Regions from separate parts of the Homo sapiens genome. Here regions 2 and 3 are each linked to region 1. The links are contacts of gene promoters, found by promoter capture Hi-C in human tissues and cell types (Jung and others, 2019). All regions are on one chromosome and are shown on one strand. Each heading gives the region's core, a stretch centred on a gene start or on the middle of the fragment in contact. The rest is flanking DNA. Distances are from core to core; before and after follow the strand shown.

Region 1 (3,315 bases), core at 326-2,825:
ACCGAACTGCAAAGTAATAGCAAAAGTGTAAACCCATTTAGAAAAAACGTGTGTGACATAAATGTGATAAAAGGAACAGGGCCAGTCTGGGAGGGAGTACCCGGACGCTCCGGAGCTGTCCCAGACTCCAGGGGCGGAAAAGCCGGGCTGAAGAGGTGCCCTTCCTCCACGCTTCTGGTGCCAATCTCCCCTGCTGCGCCCACCCTGGGTCCCTAGCCTGGGCTCCAAACCAACTCCGAGCTAGGGAAGCTCCGAGCCAGGGTGCTTCTAGAGTGTCCGGCCCACCCCTCCGCTTCATTTCCCAAGACAGTGAGGGCGGGGCTAGAGGCCAGGTGCGGAGGTGCGGGACAGGAGCCAAGCTGGGTCGTAGTGGGATCCACCTGTGCGTGATACGTAACAGAAGGGAGAGGCGAGGCGCGGGGAGGTCCGCAGGGATGTGGGAGACGCGACGGGGAGGACTGGGACGAAACAAACTAGGTCCGCAAGGGTATAAGGGGAGCAGCTCGGAGGGTTGGGGCGAGGCGGGGTCTACAGGGGTGTGGGGGGCTTGGCAGGGAGCGCTGGGGCGACGCGGAGCTCCGCAGCGTTGGCGGGGAGCGTTGTGGGGAGACGGGGTCTGCAGGAATGTGAGGGCGCGGTGGGGAGCGTAGCGGGGTATGCAAGGTTGTGAGGGTTGTGGATGGGAGGGCTGGGGCGAGGCGGGGTCCGCAGAGATGTGGGGGGCGCAGAGATGGGGGGGGTCCGCGGGCCCGCCGGGGACCGCGCAGCCTCGGGCTCTGTGCCCGGGGCCGCGCGGGTTAACTAGAGAAGGTGACGCGCGCCCCTGTTGCTCAGCCGCGGCGCGTGCCTTCCCTGCGGCGATCCTAATTGGCCCGACAGAAGCCCGCCCCCAGAAGCCCCTCCCACAGTAGGCAAGGCCCCGCGTGCCGCAACGCTCCCAGAGTTGCGCGTCAGCCTGGACTCAGCGCCTGCGCTACGAGGCTGGGCGGGGCGCGGCCGGATCGGTCGAGAGCGTCCTGGCTGATGACGGTCTCCCGTGCCCACGCCCCAAACGCAGTCTCTGGCCTGGATGTGCTCGGAGCCCACGAGGTGCAGAGGCTCGGACGGCGAAAGGGACCTGGCTGAGATCTGGGTCTTAAACCGCGGGCTCGGCCCAGCATCCCGGCAGCGTGCGCCCACAAGTGACACCCGGCCGGGCGCGGTCTGCGGGATCGCAGGCGCCGGGTCTCATCTCCAGTTCACACACGGGACGAAACGGGCCACCCCTACCAGCTCTGAGAGCATGCACCTCCAACTCCATCCCTCCCCACATGCCCGACCCCCCAACCCGTAACTCAGGCAGACACCTGGGCGTCCCCCTTCAGCGAATGCCCACACCGCGGGCAGGCCTGCCCCTCACCCCGCAGTCAGGGCGCCCTGCATCCTTCTTTGTAAAACCCATAGCTGTAGAGGGAGCGGAATGGTGGGGCAGGGCTGGGAGCCCAGCGGGAGTGAGTGGTGGGGAATGATGGTGGCCAAGGTCACACAAAGCAGTGAATTCACTTCATGTCACAGAACTGCTCAGGTTACGATAGTTACTTTTGTTATGTATTTTACCACAATTTTTAAAAAGCAAACCAAAACCAACCAAGAGTGCTTCCCCCACACCTCAAAATCATCCTGCAGCAGCTCCCTGGCCCAGCTCTCTCTCACCCTGACCCTGGGCCCCTCTCCCACCACCCAGGGCTAGCCCTGTGGACCAACCATCTCTGCCAGCCCCTCCCCGACCCTCCAGCCAGGGAGGTGGGGCGCTGGCCGGTGAATGGGGCAGGCCAGGCCCAAAGGCTGGCCCAGGGCTCACCAGCTCTGGACTGGGCGTCCCGTCTGAGGTGGGGATGACCAACATGCCAGCTCTGGGTTTTAGCTGAGGATGGGCACATCAAGCACTGACAGCCAGCAAGCTGGGCACAGGCGATGCTCAACCTCTAACACATCGGCTGAGAACCTCACCTGCCTCTCCCTGCCTGGGAGCCCTGGCAAGACAGCTCCTCTCCCAGGCCCAGCACAGGCAGGCGCTGGACAGCCACTTCCTAAGGGGTGCGCGGCCGTCAAGGCAGAGGTGGGTATCCCTGCACCTCACACCTCTCAGGAGGTCAGGATCCACATCCGTCGCCTGCTTTCCTGGGCTGCCCCTGGGGCTTGTGGGCTGAGATCAACCCCTTGTGCCCTGCCCCAGGCCCTCCCTCAGGCGAGGCCCTGCCCAGGCAGGTGGTTCTTCCCTGGCTGTTCCCTTCCAACAGGTGGGGCCCAGACCATCCTATCTCTTTGGACCTGGAGACATTTCCTTAACTGGGCTTTGCAGCAGAGGGAAGAGAACAGTGGCAGAGCCAGGCGCGTACCTCCTGTGCCCAGGACAGCACCTGTAAGCAAGGGGGAAGGGAGCCACCCACCCCAGAACTCAAATGGAGAGAAAGTCAAGACAATCACCCCTGACGTGGGGCTGCACCAATCCCTGACGTCTGACCCCACTGTGGCTGTCCTCAGAGCCAAGAGGGCTCCAGAAGCCCACCCGCCTCGAAGCTGTTCAGGGAGCCTCACGGCCCGTGTTTGCCACATGGGTGTGTGCCAGGGCCAAGGGGACACAGAAGATGGCAGGATGACACTAATGGGGTGAGCAGGGCACACTGGTGCCTCCCATACTGCCCTCCAGCACCAGGCAGGGTCACCACAGCCGGCAAGCACTGGGCCTGGGGATGTGTGAAGAGATAGGGTTATTGAGAAGAGAAAACAGAACGCTGGTCATCCGTGGCACTCAGGGCTAGGCAGTCCAGGGAGCAGAAAACAGGGGTCCCGGGCCCAGTCTCCCTCCTGGAGGTCAGAGCGGAGCCCCTGGCACTGTGCCCTGGCCCAGAACCAGGCTGTGGGCTCCACGCTGCACACCCCAACTCAGGAGCAGAAAGCAAACCCCTGACTGTCCACACTCCCTGTGACTGGTCCCCTTCCTGCCGGCTCTTCACCCCCAGCCCATGGTGGCTTCACCCCATGGCACCAGCCACTGACTGCCTGCCCCTCCCTCCCATAGTGACACTTTCCTGGGGTCTGCAGGTCTCCGGTCCACTTCATGCAGACAGGCCCTGTCCCCCACTGGGGCCCAAGGCCCAGGCTAAACTACAGCCCAGCCATCCCACCCCAGGCCGTGAATGCCTTCTCCAGGAGGGCAACCAAGGATGGTGCCACATGTGAGCACAAGCAAAACCCGGAGCCAAGGCGAGTCCTGCTGGGTGCACGTTTATCCCAGCCACCGCCTCCAGGGCGGCCGCACAGGCCCTGGGCATC
Region 2 (3,315 bases), core at 338-2,837, 110 kb after region 1:
AACCACTTGGCCCAGCACGGTGGCTCATGCCTGTAATCCCAGCACTTTGGGAGGCCCAGATGGGCAGATCACGAGGTCAGGAGATCGAGACCATCCTGGCCAACACGGTGAAACCCCATCTCTACTACAAATACAAAAATAACCCGGGCATGGTGACGCGTGCCTGTAATCCCAGCTACTCGGGAGGCTGAGGCAGAAGAATCACTTGAACCCAGGAGGTGGAGGGTGCGGTGAGCCGAGATCACGCCACTGCACTCCAGCCTGGCGACAGAGCGAGACTCTGTCTCAAAAAAAAATAAAAAAAATAAAAAAATAAATAATCACTTTTTACTCCTTTTTTTAACCCTGGGTTCCCAAAGTGCTGGGATTACAGGCATAAGCCACCCCGCCCAGCCATCCTTTCTGTATTTTTTTTTTAATAGGGTCTTGCTCTGTCACCCAGGCTAGAGTGCAGTGGTATGAGCATGGCTTGCCATAACTTCAAATCCTGAGCTCAAGTGAACCTCCTACTTCAGCTTCTGGAGTAGCTGGGCCTACAGGAGCAGGCCACTACACCCAGCTAATTTGTTATTTTTTGTAGAGATGGGGGTCTCACTGTGTTGCCTGGGCTGGTCTCGAACGAACTCCTGGCCTCAAGCAATCCACCTGCCTTAGCTACCCAAAGTGATAGGATTACAGGTATGAGCTCTGCCACCGCACCTAGCCCTTTCTGAATCTTTGAGTTTCCATCTGGGATCATTTTCCTTCTGCCTGAAACTTACTCTTTATTATCTCCTTTTGCATACATCTGCTGGTGATAAATTCTCTCAGCTTCTATTTGTCTGAAGGTCTTTTTAAAAATACCTTCTGGCCGGGTGCTGGTGGCTCACACCTGTAGTCCCAGCACTTTGGGAGGCCGAGGAGGGCAGATCGCCTGAGGGTGGGAGTTCGAGACCAGCCTGGCCAGCATGGTGAAATCCCGTCTCTACTAAAAATACAAAAATTAGCTGGGTGTGGTGGCAGGCACCTGTAATCCCAGCTAATCCGGAGGCTGAGGCAGGATAATCGCTTGAACCCAGGAGGCAGAGGGTGCAGTGAGCCTAGATCATGCCACTGTACCAGCCTGGGCAACAGAGCGAGACTCCATCTCAAACAAACAAACAAACAAACAAAACTTTCTTTCCTAAGTGTAGTTTTATGGGTTACTTTACTCTAGGTAGGTTGTTTCCTCTTATATCACTTACAATGTATCATTCTATTGTCTTCTGGCCTCTATTATTTCTGTGATGGGGCCAGCTGCCAGTGTAACTGTTGCTCTTGTGAAGGGACTCCACGTTTTATCTCTGGGTCCTTTTAAGACTTTTTCTTGTGTTTGGTTTTCAGCAAATTTACTATACTGCTCCTAGGGGCTGATTTCTTTTTGTTATCCTGCTTGGGGCTAATAGGGCTTCATTTGTGATTGATGTCTTTCATACATTTTGAAAAGTTTTAGCCATGTGGTTTCAAATGTTGCCTTGTCTGCCCTTCCTTTTGGAACTTCTGTTACACACATATTAAGCCTTCGCACTGTATCCTTCCTATGTGATTAGTCATATGTTGCTGCATAACAAATTACTCCAAAACGTGGGTGTAATTTGTTATTTCATGGTTTCTATGCATTAGATCAGGAATCTCAGAGCAGCTTAGTTAGGTGGTGCTGGTCAGGGTCTCTCATGGGGTGCTGCTAACCTGTCAGTTGGGCTGGAAGTCTCCTGAAGGCTAAAGGAGCTGTTTCCAAGTGGCTGGCAGGTCTCAGGTACTTTCTGACTGCTCCTCAGCACACAGACCTCTCTGCAGGGCCACCTAGGTGTCTGCATGACATGGCAATGGCACTTAGCTTCCCTCAGAGTGAGTGTGCTGGTTAATTTTTTTTTTTTTTGAGGCGGAGTCTCGCTCTGTGGCCCAGGCTGGAGTGCGGTGGCGTGATCTCTGCTCACTGCAAGCTCCGCCTCCCGGGTTCACGCCATTCTCCCGCCTCAGCCTCCCGCCTCTGCCTCCCGAGTAGCTGGGACTACAGGCACCCACCACCATGCCCGGCTAATTTTTTGTATTTTTAGTAGAGATGGGGTTTCACTGTGTTAGCCAGGATGGTCTCCATCTCCTGACCTCGTGATCCGCCTGCCTCAGCCTCCCAAAGTGCTGGGATTACAGGCGTGACCCACCACGCCCCGCCAGGGGTGCACTTTTAAAATTTAATAAATAGTGCCAAATTGTCCTCCAAAAAGCTTGATCTTACCAATAGCCTATGGGGATGCCTATTTCCGATTCTGTTGATAATACTAGATATTATCTGTCTATAAATCCTTAGGTAAAATTAGGCATATTTTCATATGGTTATTAGGCACTGGATGTTTTTTCTTCTATGAATAGCCCATTTATTTCTTCAGCCCATTTTTTACTAACAAATTGTTCATATTTTCTCACTGATTTATATGATGGAGATATATATATATGTGTGTATGTATATATATGTATGTGTCTTTGTCCTTTATGTATGTGTCAAGTATTTCCGTTATTTAACATCAGTTAATGTGTCTTTTCTTATATAGACTTGAATGTTTATGTATTTAAATATTATATACTACTTTGTCGTTTCTGGGTTTCATGGCAAGCTCTGGAGGGTCTTCCACATCATAAAGGTAGAAAACTATACTTCTGAGCCAGGCACGGTGGTGTGCACCTGTATAGTTCCAGCTATTCAGGAGGCTGAGGTGGGAGGACTGGTTGAGTCCAGGAGTTCTAGGCTGCAGTGAGCCATAATTGCACCACTGCACTCCAGCCTGGGCAACAGAGCAAGACCTTCTTTCTTAAAAAAAAAAAATGAGGGGAGGGGCCCAAAGGTTGTTTGAAAGTCTGTGCTGGGCATGTGGCCACAGGAATCCTGACTGTCCCCTAGCAGGTGGTTACATTGTTCTCTACCACCCACCAGCACTGATTATCAGGGAACATGCTGCTCCAGCAGCCCCCGAAGGCACCCTCCCTTTGGACAGAGGCCAAGTCTGTTTGCTGCTCTTTTCTGGGGAATCTATAGGAGAATCACGTGAACCTGGAAGTTTGAGACCAGCCTAGGCAAAATAGCAAGACCCCCATCTCTACTAAAATACAAAAATTAGACTGGCATGGTGGCACCTGCCTGCAGTTCCAGGGAAAAAGTGAAACCTTACCTCTAAAAAAAAGGAAAAACTATTCACCAGTCATGGTGGCATGCGCCTGAAATCCCAGCTACTTGGGAGGTTGAGGCAGGAGAATTGCTTGAACCAGGAGGTGGAGGTTGCAGTGAGCTGAGATTGTGCTACT
Region 3 (3,315 bases), core at 606-3,105, 92 kb after region 1:
CAGGAGTTTTAGACCAGCCTGGCCAACATGGTGAAACCCCACCTCTACTAAAAATACAAAAATTAGCTGGGCGTGGTGGCAGGCACCTATAGTCCCAGCTACTCAGAAGGCTTGAACCCAGGCGTCAGAGGTTGCAGTGAGCTGAGATCGCACCACTGTGCTCTAGCCTGGGCAACAGAGAGAACTCCTGGCTTCAAGTGATCCTCCCGCCTCAGCCTCCCAAAGTGTTGGGATTATAAATGTGAGCCACTGCGCCCGGCCCTATTTCCTCTTTTGTGAGAATTGACTGAGGCCCCTTGAACTTCCACGAGAACTACGTTGTTGCATTTCTTGTAAACAATGTTTTTGTTGAGATAGGGTCTCCCTCTGTAGCCCAGGCTGAAGTGCAATGTTGCGATCACGGCTCTCTGCAGCTTTGACCTCGCAGGCTCAAGTGATCCTCCTGCCTCAGCCTCCTGAGTAGCTGCACTACAAGGCACACGCCACCACATCCAGCTAATTTTTTTTTTTTTTGAGATGGAGTATCGCTCTGTTGCCAGGCTGGAGTGCAGTGGCACAATCTCGGCTCACTGCAACTTCCTCCTCCTGGGTTCAAGCAATTCTCCTGCCTCAGCCTCCCGCGTAGCTGGGACTCTAGGCACATGCCACCAGGCCCAGCTAATTTTTTTGTATTTTTAGTAAAGACGGGGTTTCACCACATTGGCCAGGGTGGTCTCGACCTCTTGACCTCGTGATCCGCCCGCCTCAGCCTCCCAAAGTGCTGGCATTACAGGCATGAGCCACTTGCACCCAGCCCATCCAGCTAATTTTAAAATTTTTTGTCGAGATGGAGTCTCACTATGTTGCCAGAGCTGGTCTTGAACTCCTGGGCTCAAGCGATCCTCCCAACTCAACCTCCTACAGCGCTGGGATTGCAGGCGTGAGCCATCACGTCTGGCCTTCTTGTAAATCTGTAGACTGGCTTTTTGGACGTGAACACCACAATGTGCTATGACACCTCGGGCTGGGCCATTATCAATTTGTAATTTTGTCCCTAGCATTTGAGCGCAGATCACTCTGCCACCCACTTGGTGGGGTGACAAGAACAAGCTTCTATCCATTTGGCAAATAGGAGCTTTCTTTGATTCGTCCTGACAACTTTTTTTTTCCTTCAGACAGAGTCTTGCTCTGTCGCCCAGGCTGGAGTGTAGTGGTACTGCAACCTCTGCCTCCCGGGTTCAAGCGATTCTCCTGCCTCAACTTCCTGAGTATCAGGTGCCTGCCACCACGCCCAGCTAATTTTTGTATTTTTAGTAGCGATGGTTTCACCATGTTGGCCAGGCTGGTCTCGAACTCCTGACCTCAGGTCATCCGCCCACCTTGGCCTCCCAGAGTGCTGGGATTTCAGGCGTGAGCCACCGCACCTGGCCCTAACAACTTATTTATAGCTGTGAGGGGAGAGTCTACCAATGCTTGATTTCCTGCCTGTAGCCCTGGATGACTTGGTGACCAGGTGACATGACAAGCAAGGCGCTAACAGGAAGAGGAAGCAGGAAGGGACTCTCCACGCCCCTCTGCTCTCAAGTAGCCTCAAGTTTTGTTGTCAAGATCAGTTCTACCTATGGGACAACTTTCAAGAATGGCACAAATTTTGACAGCAGCTATAGCTCACAAGCATTTGAAAATTAAGAGGTTGGCTGGCTGAGAGGCAAGAGTGGATAGGCAGAGATGAATAACGCATTTCCCAGCTCTTCTCACAGTGTACCTGTCCTTTAGGACCAGTTCCAGTGCTGAACCGATCTTAGGGTGTCCCTCAATCCTGGCCTCCCATGTGGGAGCCCAGATAGTCCTGCCCCCCAATGTGGGAGCCCAGATAGTCCTGCCCCAAGGCTGGAGGGAGAAAGGCCAGCTCCCCACGTCATCCCAGCCCCGCACCTCACCTGCGCTTCCCAGCAGCCTTTGGCAGCGTAGTCCCTGAGTTTTCGGAAGCTGTGGAGGCATCGCCCAGGATCTGACACCTGTCAATGGGAGATCACCGAGCCTTTGTACAACTGTGTCTTGGGAGGAACTCAGAACCAAGACCCAGAAGGGCCGACACTACGCTAACTTCCCACCTCTTCTCTCTCAAATGGTGGAGTCATTTTTGGGGGTACCAAGAATAGCCGACTGACCAGTGGTTCCCGGAGGCTGAGAGACCGGGAGCAGCAAGAGCCACCTCCCTTTTGTGGACAGAAACGCATCCAAGGACCAGCATCAACTACGCCTTTGTCCAGCATAACTCCCCCCGACCCAGAGCAGGCACCACTCACATCTGTCCTCCTGTCGCTTTCCCAGAGGAGGTAGGAGCTGGTCAGACATCCCTGATGAGCAGCCTCCTCAAACAGGTCATGGGCCTGCTGCTGCTTCTCCTCATCCTAGAATAAATCCCAGCAGAGTTCATTGTTCCCTTATTCTTTTTCATTTTTATTTTTTGAGACAGTTTCACTCGTCGCCCAGGTTGGAGTGCAATGGCGCCATCCTGGCTCACTGCAACCTCCGCCTCCTGGGTTCAACCAATTCTCCTGCCTCAGCCTCCTGAGTAGCTGGGATTACAGGAGCCCACCATCATGCCCGGCTAATTTTTGTATTTTTAGTAGAGACGGGGTTTCACCATGTTGGCCAGGCTGGTCTCAAAATCCTGGCCTCAGGTGATCCACCCACCTCAGTCTCCCAAAGTGCTGGGATTACAGGCATGAGCCACTGTGCCTGGCTGGTTTTTTTGTTGTTGTTGAGGCAGAGTCTCCCTCTGTCACCCAGGCCAAAGTATAGTGGCACGATCTTGGCTAACTAAAACCTCAGCTTCCCGGGTTCAAGCAACTCTCATGCCTCAGCCTCCCAAGTAGCTAGGATTACAGGTGCCCACCACCATGCCCGGCTAATTTTTGTGTTTTTTAGTAAAGACGTGGTTTCAACACATTGGCCAGGTTGGTCTCAAACTCCTGACCTCAGGTGATCCACCCGCCTCGGCCTCCCAAGGTGCTGGGATTACAGGAATGAGCCACCATGACCGGCCCTTATTCTTTACTTGATGTTCAATCACTCTACTCACCATCTTCCTCCTTTTCCATACTTTTTTTTTTTTTTTCTGAGACTGAGTCTCACTCTGTTGCCAGGCTGGAGTGCAGTGGTGCAATCTCGGCTCACTGCAACCTCCGCTTCCCAGGTTCAAGCAATTCTCCCTGCCTCAGCCTCCTGAGTAGCTGGGATTATGGGCACCCGCCACCACGCCCAGCTAATTTTTGTGTTTTTTAGTAAAGACGTGGTTTCACCATTTTGGCCAGGCAGAGAGGTCCACAC

What was found. The method cuts DNA at HindIII sites, captures the fragments that hold promoters and counts their contacts. A contact is called where the count stands out against the background at its distance.
Region 2: a contact is called between a fragment that was not itself captured here and the fragment with the promoter of CEMP1 in region 1, in 2 of the 25 tissues and cell types used here (dorsolateral prefrontal cortex and lymphoblastoid cells).
Region 3: a fragment that was not itself captured here is called in contact with the fragment with the promoter of CEMP1 in region 1 in 4 of the 25 tissues and cell types used here (dorsolateral prefrontal cortex, lymphoblastoid cells, spleen and 1 more).

What each region holds. Positions count from the first base shown.
Region 1 is chr16:2,529,668-2,532,982 of GRCh38, reverse strand. It overlaps CEMP1 (cementum protein 1), which reads left to right and starts at 1,575. Exons shown (of 1, transcript NM_001048212.3): 1 at 1,575-2,948. The coding sequence starts at 1,910. The coding sequence ends at 2,653. It overlaps AMDHD2 (amidohydrolase domain containing 2), which reads right to left. Exons shown (of 11, transcript NM_001330449.2): 11 at 1,566-3,315. It overlaps MIR3178 (microRNA 3178), which reads left to right and starts at 978; the gene lies at 978-1,061. RefSeq lists enhancers at 293-342, 1-344, 1,123-1,172. The HindIII fragment of the contact is 25,225 bases long and covers 1-3,315 here.
Region 2 is chr16:2,414,943-2,418,257 of GRCh38, reverse strand. It overlaps the pseudogene ABCA17P. Among named protein-coding and RNA genes, the nearest start is that of CCNF, 13 kb to the left of the region's middle. The HindIII fragment of the contact is 3,069 bases long and covers 53-3,121 here.
Region 3 is chr16:2,438,431-2,441,745 of GRCh38, reverse strand. CCNF (cyclin F) reads right to left here. Exons shown (of 17, transcript NM_001761.3): 7 at 2,289-2,393; 8 at 1,920-1,997. Among named protein-coding and RNA genes, the nearest start is that of MIR6767, 5.3 kb to the left of the region's middle. RefSeq lists a silencer at 1,371-1,460. The HindIII fragment of the contact is 4,391 bases long and covers 1-3,315 here.